Regions from separate parts of the Homo sapiens genome. Here region 1 is linked to region 2. Evidence: promoter capture Hi-C in 16 types of primary human blood cells and fetal thymus (Javierre and others, 2016). All regions are on one chromosome and are shown on one strand. Each heading gives the region's core, a stretch centred on a gene start or on the middle of the fragment in contact. The rest is flanking DNA. Distances are from core to core; before and after follow the strand shown.

Region 1 (3,971 bases), core at 1,297-3,796, 120 kb after region 2:
ATAAAGGTCATTTATTGAAATGTCTATTTAAATACAAACTAAGCATTATAAGACTTTTTTTTTTTTTTTTTGAGACGGAGTTTCGCTCTTGTCGCCCAGGCTGGAGTGCAATGGCACAATCTCAGCTCACTGCAACTTCCACCTACCAGGTTCAAGCGATTCTCCTGCCTCAGCCTCCCAAGTACCTGGGATTACAGGCATGCGCCACCACACCTGGCTAATTTTTGTATTTTTAGTAGAGACAGGGGTTCTCCATGTCAGTCAGGCTGGTCTCGAACTCCCAACCTCAGGTGATCCACCTGCCTCGGCCTCTCAAAGTGCTGGGATTACAGGCATGAGCCACGTGCCTGGCTATAAGACTTTTCATATGGATTAACAAGGCAGAAAGTCATCTCAGCAGATCATCTGTCTTGATTTTAGGGGTCAGAAAATATGGTCACCCTGTGCTCCAGGTCTGCAGAGTAAATGAGTAAAAAGTGTGCTTGGACAGGCCCCAGAACAGCAGGGAGACAACCCACTCTGGACAGGGAGGTTTTAAGGATACTGGACAGCTGGGATAAAATTTTATGCCAGAAAATGACAAAGAGAATAGCTCAGTCTTTTAGTCCTATCCTTTCAACATCTCACCACATCTCAGACGGAGTCAAAGAACCTAAGCTTTTCAGGCAGGCAGGCATATGCTCAAATCTAAGGCTCTGGATTCAAATCCCAAACCCTTATGGGAAAGTCTCTCTGAATTTCAGTTTTCTCATCTATAAAATAGGCACAACACCACCTATAAGGCTGGAGGCTGCGAGAAAGAAAGAAGACAATTAAAAATATCTAGTCTAGACCGGGCGCAGTGGCTCACGCCTGTAATCCCAGCACTTTGGAAGGCAGGCGGATCATGAGGTCGGGAGGCCGAGACTATCCTGGCTAACACGGTGAAACCCCATCTCTACTAAATATACAAAAAATTAGCCGGGCGTGGTGGCGGGCCCCTATAGTCCCAGCTACTTGGGTGGCTGAGGCAGGGGAATGGCATGAAACCGGGAGGCGGAGCTTGCAGTGAGCCAAGATTGCACCACTGCACTCCAGCCTGGGTGACAGAGCCAGACACCGTCTCAAAAAAAAAAATCTAGCCTAATGCCTGGCACACTATAGGCACCAAAATGACCCCTAGGTCTCTTTCTTGGATTGTAAACTCCAGTTCAGAGCCTCTCTTGCCTTGTAGGCAGAATTTATATTTTTATTTTTCCTGGATGCGTTATCTCAGTAATCCAAGTATAATAAAGATCAGCTGGGTGCAGTGGCTCACACCTGTAATCCCAGCACTTTGAGAGGCTGAGACGGGTAGATCACTTGAGGTCAACAGTTTGAGACCAGTCTCGCCAACATGGTGAAACCTCGTCTCTACTAAAAATACAAAAATTAGCCAGGTGTGGTGGCAGGCACCTGTAATCCCAACTACTTGGGAGGCTGAGGCAGGAGAATCACTTGAACCCGGGAGGCAAGAGTTGCAGTGAGCCAAGACTGCGCCACTACATTCCAGCCTGGGCGACAGAATGAGACTCTGTCTCAAAAAATAAATTAATTTAAAAAAAATTACAGCTTAGCATTCTGCTAAGCTTGAATGCATAAAATGTATTCCTAACAACCATCTTACTGGGGAAATTGTGTTATCACCCCATTTTACCAGTTCAGAACCTGAGGATCAGAGACTTGGCCAAGGTCACAAATCTAGTCAGTGGCAGAGTGAGGATTCAAATCCAGGCCTATGAGGTGTAGTGCCTATCCTCTGAAGGGCCAGGCAACTCTGCCTTACAGGGATGACAATTGTTTGGTTGTTTGGTATTTCCTCCCCAGCCAGGAGGCCTCACCTGTGTAGTTCTTCATCGGAGGGCGAGTACTTGGCAGTGACATCAGCCAGTTCCCCAAAGATCTGCTTGCTGTAAACGGTGAGGGAAGACAGCAGGATTAGCTCCTGCCACGTAGAGCTCAAGAGGCACGTGTAATCCTTGATTGAGAGCTCGCAGAAGAAAGGCAGTTTCTTGATCCAGGCAATCTGCCTAAAGAGCAGCTCGTCGGCCAGGCGGCAAAGCAGGGCAAATAGTTCTGCCTGTGTCACAGCGTATCTGAGGGGCAGGGACAGGGGAAAGTCACTTCCATTGGTCAGAGGGTGAGGATAAGGGTACAGAGAGAAGGTAGTCCCAAGGGCACAAAGGGACCCTGGCAATGGGCTCCTTGCTCCATGCCCACGGGTCTCCAGTTCCATTCAGTGTGATTTTCTGATAAAGGGGGAAGGCTGAGGCCAGCAGCAAGTTCAGGGCTGGAGAGGCGGGTCTGGTGAGGAAAGGCTGCTAAGGGGAAAGGAGACTTAGAAATGTGTGCAATTGGCTGGGTGCAATGGCTCATGACTGTAATCCCAGCACTTGGAGGCCACTTGAGTTCAGGAGTTCGAGACCAGCCTGGCCAACATGGTGAAACCCCATCTCTACTAAAAATACAAAAATTAGCCGGGCGTGGTAGCACATGCCTGTAATCCCAGCTACTCGGGAGGCTGAGGCAGAGGCAGAAGAATCACTTGAACCTGAGAGGCGGAGATTGCAGTGAGCTGAGATTGCGCTAATGCACTTCAGCCTGGGTGACAGAGCAAGACTCTGTCTAAAAAAAAAAAAAAAAGAAATGTGTCCAATTGTCAGGGAATATGACTTTTATTGTTGGTGTTCTCTAATGTTCCATGTCTTAGAGAAAATCCAAGTCACTCCTGTTCAAGTTCTGGCAATGGAACTCTAATGGGGTGGATCTGATGCCCACCTAACAAAGGAACTGGCACAAAAATAAGCCTCGCGTCCAGACCACTGAAGGAAAGAGAACAAGTTCAGAAGATTTTTCTGCTCTCACTCCACCCCCTGGTGGTGAGTTCAGGAACCAGCATTGCTCAGCCTTTCCTTTAAGCTAAAACTGGAATAAAAGCCGGCTTTGAGACCACAGACTCACAGACCCAAGAGTTTCAGCTTTCTTCCTCTCAAGGCCCCTTGCCAAGACTTTTCCTCACACTCCCACATCTAAATTTTTTTTTTTTTTTTTTTTGAGACGGAGTCTCACTCTGTCACCCAGAGCTGGAGTGCAGTGGCGCAATCTCGGCTCACCGCAACCTCAGCTCGCTGCAACCTCCACCTCCTGGGTTCAAGCAATTCTCCTGCCTCAGCTTACTGAGTAGCTGCGATTACAGGCGTGTGCCACCACACCCAGCTAATTTTTGTATTTTTAGTACACACGGGGTTTCACCATGTTGGCCAGCTCGTCTGGAACTCGTGACCTGGTGATCCGCCCACCTAGGCCTTCCAAAGTGCTGGGATTACAGGCATGAGCCACCACGCCCGGCTTCCTACATCTAGATTTACAAAGGGTTTGTGTGACCTCCTTGTGGGTAGATATTTTAATCTCCTCTTCTGAAACTGGAGACTAGCTTAAGAAATCTCAGGATACCTTCCTGGGAGGTCTAAGCTTGATAACACTCAAATCGTTTATGCTCTAGGCCAAAGGAGTAATGGATGCAGCAATGGGTAGGCCCGAAGGCTGAACTGTTATCTCCTCAGGTAGAAGTGACTAAAGACTGAAAGAATACTCCTTCTACCCACTCAAGCCTGCACTTAAAGTGGTCACATGCCACCAGGCTAGCCATGGGGATGCTGGTGAGGGGTGCAGACAGGCTACAACCAGCCAGGGCTTTGTGAAGGAGCCTATATCCGATATATAACTATTCCCAGAATTACTGCTCATCTCTAGCATGGAAGTGCTCTGACCCATCCCAGCACCTGGCTTACCTAGGCCCAAGCAGAATCAAAGGCCCTTCTATCTCAATTCCATAGGAACTGGAAAGTAACCTCAACTCTATGAGAAAGGATGCTTAAGGAAAAAATAAGGGATCACTGGTTTCAAAGATAAGCACAGATTTGTCCCCTGACACTTGAGTCATTATCCCCCCA
Region 2 (3,965 bases), core at 32-2,531:
CAGGATTTAAGAAAAGGTTTCTTAGTAAATGCTACTAATTGAATCCTGAGTAGGTAAGAATTATTCCCATTTTCAAGTGAGGCTCAGGTGTCGGGTAAATTCCTTGTAAATCAGAGCTAATCTGGAAAAAACCTGGATTAAGACTCAGGAATCTTTCCATTAAATTAGCCATCACTATCAATTTCCTTTTAAAACATGTTGCTTTTCTTTAAAACATGTTGCACAGGTAATCATTATCCCTTTTGACGTTTCCAACAATTTAAGGCAGGAGTTATCTCCATTTGATGCATCTGAAGGTGTCCCTGTGAGAAGGAAAGTGAGCTGCCAGAAGTTGGAATCAGCACTATAGAGTTCAAAGGTGAGACAGACCTGTCTGACCCCAAATCTCGTGATCTCCCATCACATACTTCAGCTTCCTAAACTAGTAATTAAGAAGCTAACTGACCTGTTTAAAAAAAAAAAAAAGAAAGAAAGAAAAAACCTCAGCAAAGTGAGGAAAGAACATAAACTGTTAAGAAGCACACAAAACCTGACAAAAGCAGTCGCTCCTGAAAGACGGTCTCCTGATGTATTCTATAGCATTTGCCTTTCCAGACCGAGCCGGGAGAGACACCGGAAGCCAAGTGTTCTGATTCCTGTTGCCGGTTCAGTCACTGCTGCTCTTAGCCTAACCCGGCTTACCTTATAGACCACCCCAGCGATGGTCGTGCCAGTTTTCCGGACCTTTGGAAGCTTGTATCCCCTCTTTGCAAAATCGGCTTCCAAGACGGCATTCCTAAGAGCAAATGAGAGAATCAAGTGTTGAAGGGCAGGACCACATCGCACAGCACTGGCATGAAAAGTGCCTAACAGAGAACTCAGGAAAGCTGCTACTTGTTTTCACGCCCATCTGTTTAATGAATCCTCCCACCATCAGCACTGTTCTCCCGTTTTCCAACGAAGACAGTCTTACAAAGGGGCCGTGACGTGCCTTAGGAGACGGAGATAAACGGTGGCCGAGTGCGCTGGGAAGGTGGGAGAGCAGACCCGGCTTCAGGAGAAACCCACGCCCAGGCCCTGATTCCCCTGAGTCACACTAGCCGCGGGCCACAGGCCCCGCCATGAATTCTTCCCTCAGAATTCTCGTATCACACCTTGGCCCAGCTCCCACCCGAGCACCGCACTCTTCTCCCTCCCTGAACCAAGCCCCAAGCAAGGCGGCACCTGCGGCAGTTATCAAAAGAGAAGCCTCCAACTGGTGGAGCATACACCGACACAGCCGCCATCTTCCCAAGAAAGCAGTTCCGGGTCGGAGGCGGGTGCAAACAAAAAGAGCCGAGCACTTCCGGCGTCGCTGGCAACGGGGGCTGAAGGGGCGGGGCAAACGCCGCACTAGAACGATTGATCTTAGAGATTCTGGTTCCTAGAGAGGCCAGAGATGTTTGAAGTATATCGCCCCAAGTGGCACGGAGGAGAAAGTGACACCCGGAACCGGGAAAGGACTTGTCCAAGGTGAACGCACCAGCGACCAGGTCTCCTGCCGCTCAGACTGGACTTGTTTCTACCGTTAATTTGGTTCTGCGGTGCTTCAGAGACAGACAGACCCAAGTCCCAGGCACAGCCCCACCACCCCCTTGCGTTAAGCAAGTCTCTTCAACTCTCTGAATCTGTTTCCTCCGCTATCAGATGGAGATTACAACCTAGCTCAAAAGGCTGCTGTAGAATGGCCATTAAGTCTGTGAAAAGAGGCTCAACATGATTAGTCATAGGGTGAATGCAAAGCACGACCACAGTGAGATCCCACTTCGCACCCGCTAGGATGGCCATAAACAAAAAGACAGAAAAGCGCAAGGGTTGCGAGAGTGTGGAGAAATTGGAACCCGAATACACGGCTGGTGAGAATGCAAAACGGTGCGGCTGCTCCGGAAAACAATTTGGCAGTTCCCCAAAAAGTATTATCCTCTTAGATACGCACCCGAGAGGGTTGAAGACATGTATTCACAAAAACTTCTACAAAGGTGAGGTAGAAGGCAGGCCTCCATTCAGAGATGGGGCTGAGATACCTGACCAAATTGAGGACTAGCTAAAACAGGGCCTGGACGGAAGCTGTCTTCCCTAAGACTCGCTCACCAGCCAGCCAAGTCAGTTTACCGTTGCCATGGCAACACTCGTGAGTTACCGCCCCTTTCCATGGCAGTGGCACCATAAACCAAAAGTTACTACCCCTTCCCTAGAAATGCCTGCATAAACCACCCCTTAATCTGCATGTAATTAAAAGTGTGTATAAATATGACAGCAAAACTGCCCTGACACTCTGCCTAAGAGGGTAACCCTGCTCTGCAGGAGCAGTCATGGAGCTGTAACGCCGCCACTTCAATAAAGCCGTTTTCTTCTGCCTCTAACTTGCCCTTGAATTCTTTCTTGGGCAAAGCCAAGAACCCTTGTGGGCTCAGCCGCACTTTGGGGCTTACCTGCCCTGCGTCAAAAGGGGTCTCATTGGCTGGGCGCGGTGTCTCACGCCTGTAATCCCAGCACTTTGGGAGGCCGAGGTGGGCGGATCATGAGGTCAGGAGATTGAGACCATCCTGGCTAACACGGTGAAACTCCGTCTTTACTAAAAATACAAAAACTTAGCCAGACGTGGTGGTGGGCACCTGTAGTCCCAGCTAGTCAGGAGGCCGAGGCAGGAGAATAGCTCGAACCAGGGAGGCAGAAGTTGCAGTGAGCTGAGATCACGCCACTGCACTCCAGCCTGGGCAACAGAGCAGAGACTCCGTCTCAAAAAAAAAAGCGAGGGGGGGGTCTCATTATTCACAATAGCCAAATAATGGAAACAAATGTCCATCCACTGATGAATGGATAAACAAAATATGGTAAATTCATTTAATGGAATATTATTAGACCATAAAGAAGTCTGAAGCACAGATACATGTTACAACAGGGATGGACCTTAAAAATATACTGAGGGAAAGAAGCCAGGCACAAAAGGCCACATAGTGTATCATTCCATGTATGTGAAGTGTTCTTAATAGGCAAATCCACAGACAGAAAGTAGATGTTTGGTTGCTAAGGGTTAGGGGAGGAGGAGAGAATGGATAGGACTGTTTAGTGGGCGCAGAGTTTTTGGAAAATGATGAAAATATTCTGGAATTACATAGTGGTATTGGTTGCACGATATTATGAATACACTAAAAACCACTGAGTTGCACACTTTAAAATGGTTAAAATGGTGACTTCTACGTTAGGTGAATTTTATTTTATTTTATTTTATTTTATTTATTTATTTATTTTTTTGAGACTCGGTCTCCCTCTATCACCCAGGCTGGAGTGCAGTGGCATGATCTCAGCTCACTGCAACCTCCACCTCCTGGGTTCAAGTGATTCTCATGCCTCAGCCTCCCAAGTAGCTGGGATTACAGGCATATGCCACCACGCCTGACTAATTTTTGTATTTTTAGTAGAGACAGGGTTTCACCATGTTGGCCAGGCTGGTCTCGAACTCCAGACCTCAAGTGATCTGCCCACCTCAGCCTCCCAAAGTGCTGGGATTACAGGCATGAGCCACAATGCCTTGCCAGTGAATTTCATTTTAATAAGGCTATTGTGAGTATTAAACATTGTACATGAAGACCATCTATCTTAGCATGTAGAAGCTTCTTATAAATAGTTATTATTAATAATACATTCATTTCATCCTGTCAACAAACCTAAGAGATAATTATGTAATTCAACTCATTTTACTGAGGGAATTGAAGGCTCCTTTTACAGCCTGAATGACTGTGGAATGAATTAATTTATTCACTCAACAAATATTTATTGAGCTCCCATTATGCGTCAGACATGGTTCTAGGTGCAAATGAATGAATGAAGCACCTAGAACCAGTGTCTATCACAACTGTGTGTTTAATAAACATTTGTCAAAGGTTGAATTCCCTTTCGTTACCTCTGAGTTTTCCGTTGAAATTAGGGAAATAAATTCATATTCT

Evidence for each region. Contacts are between HindIII fragments. The CHiCAGO score rates a contact against its expected background, and 5 or more counts as called.
Region 1: a fragment that was not itself captured here is called in contact with the fragment with the promoter of PSMB7 in region 2 in 2 of 17 cell types (megakaryocytes and endothelial precursors); the score reaches 8.2 in megakaryocytes.

The regions. Positions count from the first base shown.
Region 1 is chr9:124,534,019-124,537,989 of GRCh38, forward strand. NR6A1 (nuclear receptor subfamily 6 group A member 1) reads right to left here. Exons shown (of 10, transcript NM_033334.4): 7 at 1,860-2,114. Among named protein-coding and RNA genes, the nearest start is that of NR5A1, 29 kb to the left of the region's middle. RefSeq lists an enhancer at 1,695-2,195. The HindIII fragment of the contact is 1,882 bases long and covers 1,606-3,487 here.
Region 2 is chr9:124,414,161-124,418,125 of GRCh38, forward strand. It overlaps PSMB7 (proteasome 20S subunit beta 7), which reads right to left and starts at 1,282. Exons shown (of 8, transcript NM_002799.4): 1 at 1,204-1,282; 2 at 682-775. The coding sequence starts at 1,265. RefSeq lists an enhancer at 1,189-1,238. The HindIII fragment of the contact is 2,900 bases long and covers 731-3,630 here.